Linked DNA regions of Homo sapiens: region 1 is linked to region 2. The links are contacts of gene promoters, found by promoter capture Hi-C in blood cells and fetal thymus (Javierre and others, 2016). All regions are on one chromosome and are shown on one strand. The core of a region is centred on a gene start or on the middle of the fragment in contact, and the rest is flanking DNA. Distances in the headings are between cores, read along the strand shown. Region 1 holds the start of AJUBA-DT (AJUBA divergent transcript). Region 2 holds the start of BCL2L2 (BCL2 like 2).

Region 1 (7,338 bases), core at 1,564-4,063, 320 kb before region 2:
CTGTCCAGTCCGCAGGTCTATCTGTTCACGCGTCGACTCGCCCGACTGCCCCACTCTCCCCGGCCCCCGCCCCCCTAGCTCTCACGCTAGCCACAGACCGAACTTCTCTCCCAAACTTTTGTCTGCCTGGCCGGATCTACTTTCCTAGGGGGGCGGAGCGCGGTGTGTGCGAGAGCGCCGGGGGTGTCCGCGCAGGGATAGCTGGTGTGCGTGCAGCGGAAGGCGCTAACTGCCCTGGATGTGGAGACCCGCGGACTGGACGTGAGAGGCGGGCAGGGGCAGTTGGGGCAGCTGCCCCTACAACACTGAAGAATTGGAATAGGAAAGAGTGTGGGGGTAGGGGACGGGGACTCTTTGTCTGCAGTTGGAATGCGCGGAGGGGCATGGTGGAATGTGTCGCGTCCCGGGACCGGACGACAGGAGGCATGTTCTGCGCTAGCACCGTGACTTTGTTCCCAGCGTGGGGACTGTGGGAGAGATGGAGAGAGACTGGTACAGAAATGGTGAGACAAGGAGAGAGCCATAAAGAGGAAGACAGAGAGAAAGAAGACAAATGCATAAAGAGGTTCAGAGACGTGTACGTAAAGATAGCCCTGAAAGGCGACGAAGCCCACAGAGAGAGGTGGAAGAGGGAAGAGGTAGCGAAAGAAAGGGAGAGCTGAGGAGCAAAGAGGAGTGTGGACGATGCAGAGACCGAAGGGTGCGCAGACAAAGGAAAGGACAAGCTTGTCCAGAGAGAATGAGAGACAAACAGATAAACTGCAATAAAAAGGCACCACCTTCTGGACCCAAAAGTTTTGTGATTTGTAAAAGCAGTGAAAAGGAGTCAGGAAAATGGGACTAATCTCTACTTTGAGAGGGAGGGAAAGAGATATAGTGTGTATGTAGAAGCAGTGAAAAGGAGTGAGGAAAAGGTTTGGGACTAATCTCTACCTTAAGGGTAGGACAGTTAGAGGGATAGACACCCCCTGGTGTTGGGAAATGAGATTTTTCTCATTTCAGGTGACTGTGGAGATCGAAGGCCTGGTTTTAGGGCTAGCGAACACCTTCTCCCTTTGGTTTTGGTCCACAGAAGACTGGTGATACAGAGTAAGTATTAAGAGGAAGAAAAGAAATGCCGTGTAGAGGAAATTGCAAATGAAAATGATCAGGATGGAAAAGAGGCTGATATTGACTATTTTAAAAGGATCAAGAATAAGGAAAAGAAACCCTGGCTGAAGCAGCCGGGCGCGGTGGCTCACGCCTGTAATCCCACCACTTTGGGAGGCTGAGGCGGGCGGATCACTTGAAGTCAAGAGTTCAGACCAGCCTGGCCAACATGGTGAAGCCCTATCTCTACTAAAAATACAAAAATTAGCCAGGCGTGGTGGCGCACGCCTATAGTCCCAGCCACTCGAGAGGCTGAGGCGGGAGAATCGCTTGAACCCGGGAGACAGAGGTTGCAGTGAGCCAATATCACGGCCACTGCACTCCAGCCTGGGCGACAGAGCAAGACTCCGTCTCAAAAAAATTCTCAAAAATAAATAATAATTTTTTTTAAAGAAACCCTAGATGAAGCTAAACATACCTAATTAAATACCAGCCAACGGCCGGGAGCGGTGGCTCACGCCTGTAATCCCAGCACTTTGGAAGGCAGAGGCGGCGGGATCACGAGGTCAGGAGTTTGCAACCAGCCTGGCCAGTATGGTGAAACCCCGTCTCTACTAAGAATACAAAAATTAGCCGGTGTGGTGGCGTGCACCTGTAGTCCCAGCTACTTGGGAGGCTGAGGCAGAAGAATCGCGTGAACCCAGGAGGCGGAGGTTGCAGAGAGCCGAGATTGTGCCATTGCACTCAGGCCTGGGCGATAGAGGGAGATTCCGTCTCAAAAAAATTTTTTAAAAACCAGCCAACTACTTTTGCCCAGACTAAAACATCAGGGGCAAGGGGTGGAGGAAGTAGAATGGAGAAGGAAAATGACTCCTTTGTATTTAGATAGTAAATGAGTATGAAAATTATATGCAAACAAGTCATGCATATTATTTTCATCTCAACATTTTGAACACCTTTTATAATCTTAGTGTAGCCTTAGGGAATGTGGAAAGAAACGAGGTTAATATCTTTTGGGAAATTAATTTGTGCCAAACTATTTGGCTTCTTCGTCCTAGTTGCATTGTCTCCCTGACCTCATCTCCCCTGAGAATCAGCCTCTGTTTCCCTGGTCAAGGCCACGGCTTTTCTCTGATCCTGAGGAGAGTTTCCTACCAGAGTGGAAGCAGGGAGGACTGAAAGCACTAGGAACAGAGGGGAGCTATCGGATTGCATCTAGAACCTGCTGTGAGCAACATCTTCAGAATTAACCATAATGTGTTCCCTCCTTTCCTGTGTCCAGATGAGGAAGGAGAACTTTGATTCTTCCTTCCAATTACATCCAAAATATCCACACAACTACTAATATTTGGAAGCTTTGATCCTTTGGGGTGAGGATGCGAGAGGAAATCTTATGAAATGTTGGGAGGCCATTAAAGGAGGCCCATGCAAGAGTTGGTGGTAGCAATGGGCACAACTGGGATGAACAGCCTGTGTTTTCAAGGGATAACTGGAAGCAGAGATGAGTGAAGGGGAAGAAGTAGAAGACGCATATGCTAATAGGGCATGCTCCAATAGTGCTCATGACCTCAGGTGGCCTCTCCACAGTCTAAACTGGAGCTGGGATCTCCAAAGGCCCTCTTCGTTCCCAAGACTTTAATTATAATCTGTATATGCAGGTGACTCCCTAATCCATATTTCCAGCCCAGTCTTTCTTGGAATTAAAAACTCAACTAACTACTAGCATCTCCAATGGCTGTCTCAGAAGCACCCAATATCCTAAACTGATCTCATCTTCTCTGCCTCATGAAACTGGCTCCTCTAACATTCTCTGAGTAAATGGCACAATCCTGTTAGCTGCTTAAACTAGAAATCTGAGCGTCAACCCTATGTCCTCCTTCTCCCTTAACCTCAAATCCAACCAAGTCCTATCAATCACCAAGTTCTATTAATTCTGCTTCCTAAACATCTTCCAAATCTGTCCTCCCCTCATCACCACTATATATGTCAAGTCACCGTCTTTCCTCTCCGAAACCAATGCAAAAGTCTCCTGGCCAAGGCTTGCTCCCTGCAATCCATCTTATACCCTGAGGTCAAGTGATTTTTTTCAGTACAGAAGCTTTACGACTTACAATGGAGTTATGTCTGAATAAACCCATCCATTATAAATTGAAAATATCGTAAGGCAGAAGTGCTTCTTCAACTTCACCATATTTTCAGCTTAAAATGGGTTTATCTGATATAACTGCATCATAAGGTGAGGAGCATACTGAATCATTTCGCACCATCGTAAAGTTGAAAAATCCTAAGTCGAACCATCGTTGAGTTGGGGACTGCCTGTAGGCAAAACCTGTCGTTTTATTTCCCTGCTAAAACAAACTTTCAATGATTTCTCACTGCCCTTGGGTTGAAGTCTGTACTCTGTATTATGAGGTCTGTCTCACTCTCCAGCCTCTCCTCTAGCATTATCCCTTCCCCAAAAGTCTGCAGTAGAACTGGACCTTGTCTGTACTCTCTCTTGCCCCTGGACTTTTGTACCTGCAGTTCCCTGTTTGGAACACTCTCTTAGCCTCCCCTTTCCTTCTGGTTAACTCTTCCCCAGTTTAGACATTACACCCTCTCAGAAGAAGCCTTTCCAGACTGCAAGAGTAGGTTAGCTACCCCTGCTGTATATTGCCATAGTGCACTACACTCCACCATGGTCACCCTTATCACAGTTCATTTCATTGCCTACTCCACTGCCTGGCTTCCTGACTAAACTAAAAAAATCTCTGAACAGCATCCAACCTTATCAACAATGTATCCATAGCACAGTACCTGACACCTAGTAAAGCGATCAATGTTTGTTATAAGACTGAATAAATGTAAAGCCATTTTTGCTTTTCAATCCATCCAAAATGCACACCCCTTCCTCAAAATACAGCTTGGCTGACAGGACCAAGAAACAGCTACAAAGCTGTGTATTTTGCTTGGTCACATAGTGAGAGAGAGGCTGCCGGTGAGACACGGGAACTCTTTAAGCCTTAATTTCCTCATCTGTAAGATAGGAATAGTAAAATTTTCCTCATGTAATTCAATAAACAATAGCTATTATATCAGGAACCCAATTCCCCAATAGTGATAGAACTTGTGTTCCCTTGGTCAGAAGACTCAAGCTCATGACTGAAACTGCCCACCAGGTGGCGGTATTAACCTGCACTGGTCATGTTCGGTTTCCACTGCAGAGCAAGACAAGTAGTCACAGGGAAGCAAAAGGTACAACCTGGGCTGCTTCCTCAGAGCTTTGGGTGGAACTGGGCAGGGGCAGAAACAACTCAGAGACAGGGCATATGTCAAGAAGGCCTCATGTTTCTTGGACCCATCCTCCTCATTTTCTCATCCCAGGCTTCTCCGAGATACTGTTTATGCTGAGGAATAAGCATATTCTGGCTTACTGTTCACAGTGGAGGGAGTTTCTCCCCTTCTAGATAAGTTTTTATCCCACCAGTGTTCTGCTTCCCCAGTAGAGACTGTGTTAAGAAAAGAGGCAAATTTGCTTTCTCAGACTGCACAGAGCATCTCATTATTTTGTGAAGCCCCATGGCCACCTATTTCTGAGACATGGGGCATGGCGGAAGCCAGAGTTATTCTTGGCTGTAGATTTTATTCATCCTTTTCCACCTTGATTTCAATGAATGAGTTCAAGTCAGGACAGCAGGTTTTGTGGGGTTGGTCAAAAGATGGGGAGCCAGGTGCATTCTCATCCCCTCCCTCATCTTCCTCTTCTTGGAAATTAGGATTGTAAAGTTCTGGTGGAAGGAGCTGGGCTTCAGCAGAAGGCAGTCTGTCTGAGGGAGGCCCATACACACGGTTGGCTTTGGTGCCATGCTTAGAGTTAGCATCCAGGTGGTAGCAGAGCTCTGTGAGGCGCTGGGCCCGGAAACGGGGAGGGCGGGCCACCCACACACCTGGCTCGTTAAGACTGTCCTCTTCATCTGACATCAGTTCCTCTGTCACATCATTCCACAGACGTTGGTCCTCAGGTCCAAAATGCCTCATGATACTGGATCGGTTGGCAAAAAGCTAAGGCAGGAACCCAGGAGATAGATTAGGAAGGTAAACATTCTATGGATTAGATTTGGGGAAAAGGTTTGGTGGGGAAGGCTGTGTAAAATCTGTGCCTAAGTGAACCCAGTCCCCAAGTCAGATCTTAGCATTGGCTCACTGTTCTTCTCTATCTTCCTACATTCCTGGCTCTCAACCCTATTCTCATATGCCATGTCCTCTGGCCCTTCCCACTTAGGAAAGGGTTTAGAGTTTAGTATCTTGAAAGAAAGGCCTAGAAACCTACCCGATATCGGCGACTTCGAAGTTTCTTCTCCTCTTTTTCCTTCAGGCCTTTAAAGGGGTTCAGGGAGTTGCGGTACTCACGCCTCTTAGTAAGGAAGTAGGCCACACAGGCTCCTGGCGGGGAGGGAAGGAAGGGAGCAAGAAGGAGGGTCCTCTGAGTAGTGGTCCCCAGCCCGTTTTTCTGCCCTAACACTATTGAATGGGAGGTTGGCGATCACTACTTAGATGAGGGCTTTTTTTTTTTTTTTTGAGATGTAGTTTCACTCTTGTTGCCCAGGCTGGAGTGCAATGGCACAATCTCGGCTTACCACAACCTCCGCCTCCTGGGTTCAAGCGATTCTCCTGCCTCAGCCTCCCGAGTAGCTGGGATTACAGGCATGTGCCACCACATCCAGCTCTTTTTAGTAGAGATGGGGTTTCTCCATGTTGGTCAGGCTGGTCTCAAACTACTGACCTCAGGTGATCCACCTGCCTTGGCCTCCCAAAGAGCTGGGATTACAGGCGTGAGCAGCCGTGCCTGGCCTAGATGCTGGGCTTTCTTGGCATAGGCATTAGCATCTTCACTCCTCTTTGGTTAGGATTCTTTTTATTTATTTATTTTATTATGATTTTGTTATGAGACAGGGTCTCGCTCTGTCACCCAGGCTTGAGGGCAGTGGCATGGTCATGCATGCTCACTGCAGCCTCCAACTCCTGGGCTTAAGTGATCGTCCAGCCTCAGCCTCCTGAGCAGCTGGGACTACAGGTGCACATCACCATGGCCGGCTAATTGGTTTAGCTTTCTTTGCCCACCTCCATCTCCAACACTAACTCCTCCCAAATATCTCCCACTGGAAAAAGACAACTCCAATCGCTTCTGTGTCTCCCCGCTCCCTCCACCAAATAAAACCTACCCCTTCTTGGGCGTGGTGGCTCACACCTGTAATCCCAACATTCTGGGAGGCCTCCTGCTGAGGCAGGAGGATTGCTTGAGCCCAGGAGTTTGAGACCAGCCTGGGCAACATAGTGAGACTCAGTCTCTATTTAAAAAAAAATTTAAAAACAACAACAATCTACCCCTATTGCCACTCTGATGGAAGATTACAAGTATTTTTTTATTTTTCGTTGAAACAAGGTTTGCCCACAGTGGAGTTCAGTGACACGATCTTGGCTCAATGCAACCTCCACCTCGCAGGCTCAAGCAATCCTCCCACCTCAGCCTCCCAAGTAGCTGGGACTACGTCATGCATGCCACCCCACCCAGTTAATTTTTGTTATTTTTGTTTGTTTTTGGTAAAGATTGGGTTTCGCCATGTTGCCCATGCTAGTCTCGAACTCCTGGACTGAAATAATCCTCCTGCCCTGGCTTCCCAAAGTGCTAGGATTACAGGGATGAGCCACGTTACCTGGCTCTACAAGTACTTTTTCAGCAGAAGCTTTCATAATACTTCAGGGTTAGCTACAAATAACAAAAGAGAGCAAGGAAAGAGAAAGCCTGGGAAATAATATTTAGGGACCAAGGGGCAGGCCTGGCTTCTGAACATAACACCTCCTCATAACACCTTAGATTCCTCCTCCTCGTAACACCTTAGGTGCAAGACCTGCATAAACAGAATGCATGATGCTGTTCTAGCCCTTTCCTTCTCTCATTTTCGTTTCAGACTGAGAGGGAAATAAACAGGCAATTTGAGATAATTCTATGAATATATTGAAGGTGAGAATAGCCAAAAAATGTTTCAAATCCACTATTTTCAAAACCACCTAATCATCTCTATTATTCCTCTTCTCCTCTGACCAAGAAAGAGGAGTGGGAGGAGAGGGGGAGAAAGGATGGCATAGGAGTTAAACCAGTTTTTCTCACCTTTTAGCTCCTTATCAGTGTAATTGTGGGGACTGGTCACCAGCTCTTGCTTGAGCTTTTCCAGAAGAAACTTCACTACTGAAATATTCCAAGAGGACTTG
Region 2 (6,318 bases), core at 929-3,428:
CGTATCATTATATGTGATACAATATATACAATGTATATATTGTATATGCATATACAATATAATATATATAATGCATATAAATTAATGTCTAATAAATCATACATTAATTTATGTTACAATCAAGCTGGCCCAGGAGTTTGAGATCAGTCTGGGCAACATAATGAGATCCCTATCTCTATAAAAAATGAATTTAACCAAGCATGGTGCAGTACACCTCTAGTCCCAGCTACCAGGGAGGCTGAAGTGGGAAGATTGCTTGAGCCTAGACGGTGGAAGCTGAAGTGAACTGTGCTTGTACCACTGCACTCCAGTTTAGGCCATGGAGTGAGAACCTTGTATCACAAACAAACAAATAAACCAGGAGTGCAAATGAAGACTTGGACTAGGTTATTCTCTAAAGAAGAGGGCAACCTTGCTGGTGGCAGCCAGAATGATCAGGCTAAGAGCAAAAATGAAATGAGGATGGTTGAAAGGATACAGCCATAAAGGAGTGTAATAGGCTGTGTGTTTAGAATAGAGGAGAGAATTGAGTATGGACTTGTAAATGGTGTGGATTCAGACTATGAGAACCATATTGACTATGTGAAGGCAAGAGGTGATCTTGAAGCGATAGTGTCAAAGTTACAGCATGAGATGGCTGTGCTAGCTTCTTACATATCAGCCTATGGCTTTGGGAAAATCACTTAACCTCTCCAAACCTCAATTTCCTCATTCATAGAATGAGGATAAAACAGCATAAGGACTGGTGAGAGGAAAAAATACACATGTAAAAAAAGCACAGCATCTAATAACTCCTCAAAATATGTTAGTTTTTACCTTTTTTTTTTTTTGAGATAGAGTCTCGTTCTATCACCCAGTCTGGAGTGCAGTGGCATGATCTCAGCCTCCTGGGTTCAAGTGATTCTCATGCCTCAGCCTCCTGAGCAGCTGGGATTACAGGCTGGCTAATTTTTGTATTTTACGTCTGGCTAATTTTTGTATTTTTAGTAGAGATGGGGTTTTGCCATGTTGGTCAGGCTGGTCTCGAACTCCTGGCCTCAAGTGATCCACCCGCCTTGGCCTCCCAAAGTGTTGGGATTACAGGTATGAGCCACCGAACCCAGCTAGTTGTTACTGTTATTGCTGCAGAAAAGACCTTGCTTCTCCAGTGACCATAAGGGAAGATGGTAATACAGAGGCTTGGATTGGAGGTAGAAGCAAAGGGAGCTAGCAGAATAGGAGAATTAGGTTGCCTCTTTCTGGCCTTTGGTTGGGGCACTCTTTAAAAAAGTGCCAGATCCAAGAGCCCAGGGGGCTGGCTGTGAGTGCCCTCATGTGGATCAGCTATGGTCAGACTGCTTCACGCCTGTGACCTGCCCTGTATAAATATACTGCCATGTATAAATAATGGCCCCATATATATGTAATCTGGAAGGATAAACATCAAGCTTAACACTGGCAACCTGCAGGGAGGGAAGTGGAATTGGGTGTGTATGTGTGTGTGTGTTTGAGAACCTGTATTTTATTACTCCGCACGTCTTTATTGTTTGATTTTTTTCATAATGAGAATGAGTTTGTGTGTTGGGTAAAAAAAAGAAAAAGAAAAAAACCCCACTAAAATCAATCTAATTACAAAAGAAGATGAATTAAAGAAAAGTACCGAGAGAAACTGCTTGTGATCCAAGTCCTGGCTCCCTAATGCCTGGCTGAAGCCCAGCCCACAAAGAGAACACTGGGTTAAAGGTCCTGGAGAAAAGATGGGAAAGGTTTGGTGTCTATGTGGTGTCTGCTAGCCCCATAAGGGTAAGGCACCTGGTAGACGGTTCCCAGCTTAATGGGAACTGCTCCTGTTTTCCAGGCACACAGTTCAGGGCTGGAAAAGTTCAACAAGTGCATGGAACATCGGAAACCTCCTGAAAATGCTAAATTTGCCCCGAGATGTCCCGAAGTCCGGCATATTTCTCTGGGCAGCCTAGAGGCTCAGGAGCCCAGCCCAGCCCAGCCCACCGTGCCCTCTCAGCCAGCCCTTCTTTGCCTTCAGCAGCCCTCCCTCTTCCTGAGTAGTGGCCCTTTGCAGGCCTGCGTCCCAGCCCCGCCCCTCTCTCTGGACGCATCTCTGGGCCCCATCATCACCCGGCGCCGGGCCCTCCCTCTGCCCCCCCCTTTCTCCTCCCTCCTTCCTTCCCTCCCTTCCTCCCTCTCTCCCTCCCTCCCAGCTCCTGCACCAGGAAACGGCCCGGATCCCGGCAGCGGCCTGACCCGTGAGATCCCTAACCTGGCAGGCGGGCGGGGTTGGAGACTGGCTGAGGTGGGGGTAAGGGAGGAGCTGGGCCTTTGGGCTGCACTAGGGGGAACCGGGAATAGAGATGGTGTCGGCAGGAAGCCCTTGGCCTTGGGTTTCCCGGGAGGACAGTCATTAAACATGGATTCGGCCACACAGCTGGTAGAGCGTTGGGGGCAGGGGCCTAGGCCCAGAGCTGCAACCCTAGCCCTTCCCAGGCCAGAACCTGATCCCTGGCCTTCCCCTCCTGGTTCTGATCTCCCCCTCCCCTTTCCAGGGCTCCACGCTGGCCAGGAGGATGAAAGGCCCCAGCTGGGGGCTCCTTGCCACCAGTGCTGTGTCTTAAGAGCTGCCATCCCGGCTGGGTGAGTGTCTCCTTCCTTTCTCTGTCTGGAGTAACCCATTGCGTCTCCCACCTTTCTCTTCAGCCCATCTGCTCCCCCTCATCTTGTGTCTCTGCCAACATCTTTACATCTTGCATTTGGGGAGGTCCTAAGACCCTTCCTCTAGCCAAGAAGGTGTGGACTAAGGAGACCCGGGGGTGGGGGTGTTGTAGGGGTGTCATTGAGCTGACGTTGTCTTATTGTGAAAAGAATCTAAAGTATCCTAAACAGAAAATTTACTTGTTTTACATTTAATTTGGCATATTAGGAATGTAATGGCCAGCCACTCACAGCCTAGTCTCATATCATGACTTAATTCCCTTGTTCTTGCCTCTCCCTGTCCAGTGAGTCCTGAGCATTTCCTCTCTCCTCCTCATCTCACTGGGTTGGTCAAACCAGAAGTGCTCCTTCTGATTCTCTCTTCATATATTCATGCCAGTCTTTCATCCTTGCCTCTTATAGCCGCCCGGATGGCGACCCCAGCCTCGGCCCCAGACACACGGGCTCTGGTGGCAGACTTTGTAGGTTATAAGCTGAGGCAGAAGGGTTATGTCTGTGGAGCTGGCCCCGGGGAGGGCCCAGCAGCTGACCCGCTGCACCAAGCCATGCGGGCAGCTGGAGATGAGTTCGAGACCCGCTTCCGGCGCACCTTCTCTGATCTGGCGGCTCAGCTGCATGTGACCCCAGGCTCAGCCCAACAACGCTTCACCCAGGTCTCCGATGAACTTTTTCAAGGGGGCCCCAACTGGGGCCGCCTTGTAGCCTTCTTTGTCTTTGGGGCTGCACTGTGTGCTGAGAGTGTCAACAAGGAGATGGAACCACTGGTGGGACAAGTGCAGGAGTGGATGGTGGCCTACCTGGAGACGCAGCTGGCTGACTGGATCCACAGCAGTGGGGGCTGGGTAAGAAGCTTCTCAATTGCCGCTCTGCACATCCTTCTGCAAAGCTGGTCTCCAGGGGGAAGATGGGGGCTCTGATTGGAGGCTGAGGCAGCTATGTTGGGAATGAGGTACGGGGCTGAGTCTCCCCGTCTGGATGGAATTAGATTGAGAGATGCCTGGACTCTGCACTCCAGGGCTGCCATGCAGTCAACACTGGATGGGCTCATGGTCCCAAGCAGAGGACAGAATACACACCCAAGGAGTGCCTGCAGGGGAATGTTGTCAGGGACTTTTTACATCTGAGTCATGGCGTGGGAGGTGGGGAGGACCAGGGATGGGTGGTGGTCAGGCAAGCCTTGGCAAAGGATGCTAGTTCTGAGCAGAATTTTTCGCCAAGGAAAGGATGGAATTCACTGGAGGCAGAGTGGGCAGATGAACCAGTCTCTCAGGGTGGGGGTGCACCTGGGGGGATCAGAGGGGCTTGCAGGGAGAAGAGCTTTGGCCAGAGAGGAGCTGGGTATGGGGTAGTGCTCGCAGTGGATGGAACTGGAACTCTTCCTCTCCTCTTCTCTCCACTCTTTCCTCTCCTGATATCCCTTTCTCCTTCTTTCTCTCCTGCTTCCCTTCTCTCCCACAGGCGGAGTTCACAGCTCTATACGGGGACGGGGCCCTGGAGGAGGCGCGGCGTCTGCGGGAGGGGAACTGGGCATCAGTGAGGACAGTGCTGACGGGGGCCGTGGCACTGGGGGCCCTGGTAACTGTAGGGGCCTTTTTTGCTAGCAAGTGAAAGTCCAGGGCCAGGTGGGGCTAGGTGTGGCTGGGGGCCAGGAGAGCAGGAACAGAACAGAGAAATGCCCTTGGAAGAAGTGGAGTTGGTGGATGGGTGGGCATGGAACAGGATGGGCAGAGAAAGGGTAGTGTGTGAGGGAGCTGAGTAGGCCAGGTAGGCGATTGGAAGAGTGAGCAGGACACAGAGGGGAGGGGAATGTTTTGGCAAGTTTAGGGGCACAGGAGATGTAGTCGTTCCAGGGCTGGGGGAGGTGGGAGGGATCACGCCTATAGGTGTGGGCACATGAAACGACCTGGAACTTGCTTCACAGCCCTGAGGAAGGTGGACTTACATAAGCAGCTGTATTCCATTAGATGAGTGGGATTTAGGGAACGCAGAAGGCACATCCCTTTGGAATGGAAGCTTAGGGGTTCTCAGGTGATAGGGAGAGGTGGCTGTTAACAGTGGGCTGCTTGGACACGCGTGTGCATGTGCACGCATGCTGGTGTGCATGCTGGGCTGCCTGGCAAATCTGGTGGTGATGGGATTCCTCAAGGAGAAAACATTCCCTCTTGCAATGGCAAGAACTAGGGGCAGTTCTCTGTCCCTCCTCCCAACCCCTCCTTTCCCCTGCCCTTGTCCTGATGCCTCAAGGCTTAGAGAGAAACATTGTATCCAGACCGAGGGCTCTGCTGCTTCTTTCCAGAAAGTGATTGGCAAGGCTTTGGAGAGAAGAGCAGTTCTGCAGCTGGCCTTGTTCCTTCATCATCCCCCTTCCTTGTGCATTATGCACTTGCTGCTGCCTCCTGGGCTCTGATAGAAGGGCAGGGCTGTTGAGCCTGGATGGGTGGAGGCTTAGGTAGCCGGACCTGCCTGCCACCCTCCTCTCCCACTCAGGCACAATGGTGCCTAAAGTGTTTCCAATCTCTGGGACCTCTGTACCCAAACTGAAACTCTAAATTGGGGCCCTAACTAATTTTCCTTTTGAGGTTGTGGGCATAAGTGCTGATCTAGAATACAGTCTGGGTCCCACACTGTGTCTCAGTGAGACTGTTGATGCCTTGAGATGACCATTTCAGATCTGAATCCCATGGGTGTGAGGGTGATGGGTACTCCAGGACTGGCCTATGCTGTGTTGTGGGCTTTGGTTCGGCTTTATCAGGGGCCAGGCATATGGGTTCTAGAGTACCTACCATGACCTAGAAGCATTTATGATTTATTTGAAGCCACACTGTTTGCATGGGTGTTACTTGTCTGTACCTCAGAGTCTGAGGATGTTAACTTTGGAACTCGCAGTCCTCTAGAACAGCTTCAGATTATGGCTTTTTCTTTTGAGGAAGAAATTATTCACTCCAGATGCATGCCCTGAGCCAGACCTCACTGCTGCACTTTCCAAGGTGCTAAGATTGCTGCTCTCCAATGCTAACTTTCTGACACAGTGCTCTAGAACCCTGCCTGTGGTCCTGAGCACTGATCACCTTAGCTAGACCATGGTTGACTCTTCTTGGAGATTTTCACTTGGTCCTAGAATGTGGCAACGTAGTTGTGCTCGCCAGAACGTGGGACCAAATTGGCCTCAGGTGTTGAGTCCAGACTTCTGCTTTTGAGAGAGGGCTGCACTTTTTCATGGTATTTCTAGGGGAGGTGGTAGGCTGCATGTGCCACTTGGTCTTGTTGTGAGTATGCTGACACCAGAAACTCAGAGCCAGCTTGTGGCAAGCAGTTGGGGTGGGGGGTCTCTGACTTGCTCAGGACAAACTAGGCCAGTGGTTTTCAAACTGCTTGGCAGAGCCCTGAAGTTTCCTAGGGGTTGCCTCAGGAGTCCTTGGGGAGATGAAGGGGGTGGGGAGCTGAGCAGGCTGGGCAATTTGCCCTCAAACAGAACAGCTCCCCTTGTAGCTGTCTTACATATTGGGGTTCAGGGTAAGATTTTATTTGCATTAAGGGGTTTGCTGCTGAAAAAAAGTTGGAAAACCACTGACTAGACCATCGGCTCCAAATTGGAGTCTGTGCTTCCTTCCCCAG

Evidence for each region. The method cuts DNA at HindIII sites, captures the fragments that hold promoters and counts their contacts. A CHiCAGO score of 5 or more calls a contact.
Region 1: a fragment that was not itself captured here is called in contact with the fragment with the promoter of BCL2L2 in region 2 in 1 of 17 cell types (neutrophils); the score reaches 5.5 in neutrophils.

The regions. Positions count from the first base shown.
Region 1 is chr14:22,982,505-22,989,842 of GRCh38, forward strand. C14orf93 (chromosome 14 open reading frame 93) reads right to left here. Exons shown (of 7, transcript NM_021944.4): 5 at 7,238-7,338; 6 at 5,399-5,511; 7 at 3,390-5,130. The coding sequence ends at 4,711. AJUBA-DT (AJUBA divergent transcript) reads left to right here and starts at 1,820. Exons shown (of 3, transcript XR_007064074.1): 1 at 1,820-2,316; 2 at 7,245-7,338. It overlaps AJUBA (ajuba LIM protein), which reads right to left and starts at 47. Exons shown (of 8, transcript NM_032876.6): 1 at 1-47. RefSeq lists enhancers at 1-61, 62-1,027 and a silencer at 4,227-4,336. The HindIII fragment of the contact is 743 bases long and covers 2,443-3,185 here.
Region 2 is chr14:23,304,655-23,310,972 of GRCh38, forward strand. It overlaps BCL2L2 (BCL2 like 2), which reads left to right and starts at 2,179. Exons shown (of 4, transcript NM_004050.5): 1 at 2,179-2,240; 2 at 2,538-2,625; 3 at 3,106-3,545; 4 at 4,162-6,318. The coding sequence starts at 3,114. The coding sequence ends at 4,311. It overlaps BCL2L2-PABPN1 (BCL2L2-PABPN1 readthrough), which reads left to right and starts at 2,179. Exons shown (of 8, transcript NM_001387346.1): 1 at 2,179-2,240; 2 at 2,538-2,625; 3 at 3,106-3,545. The coding sequence starts at 3,114. RefSeq lists an enhancer at 3,038-3,871. The HindIII fragment of the contact is 2,126 bases long and covers 1,426-3,551 here.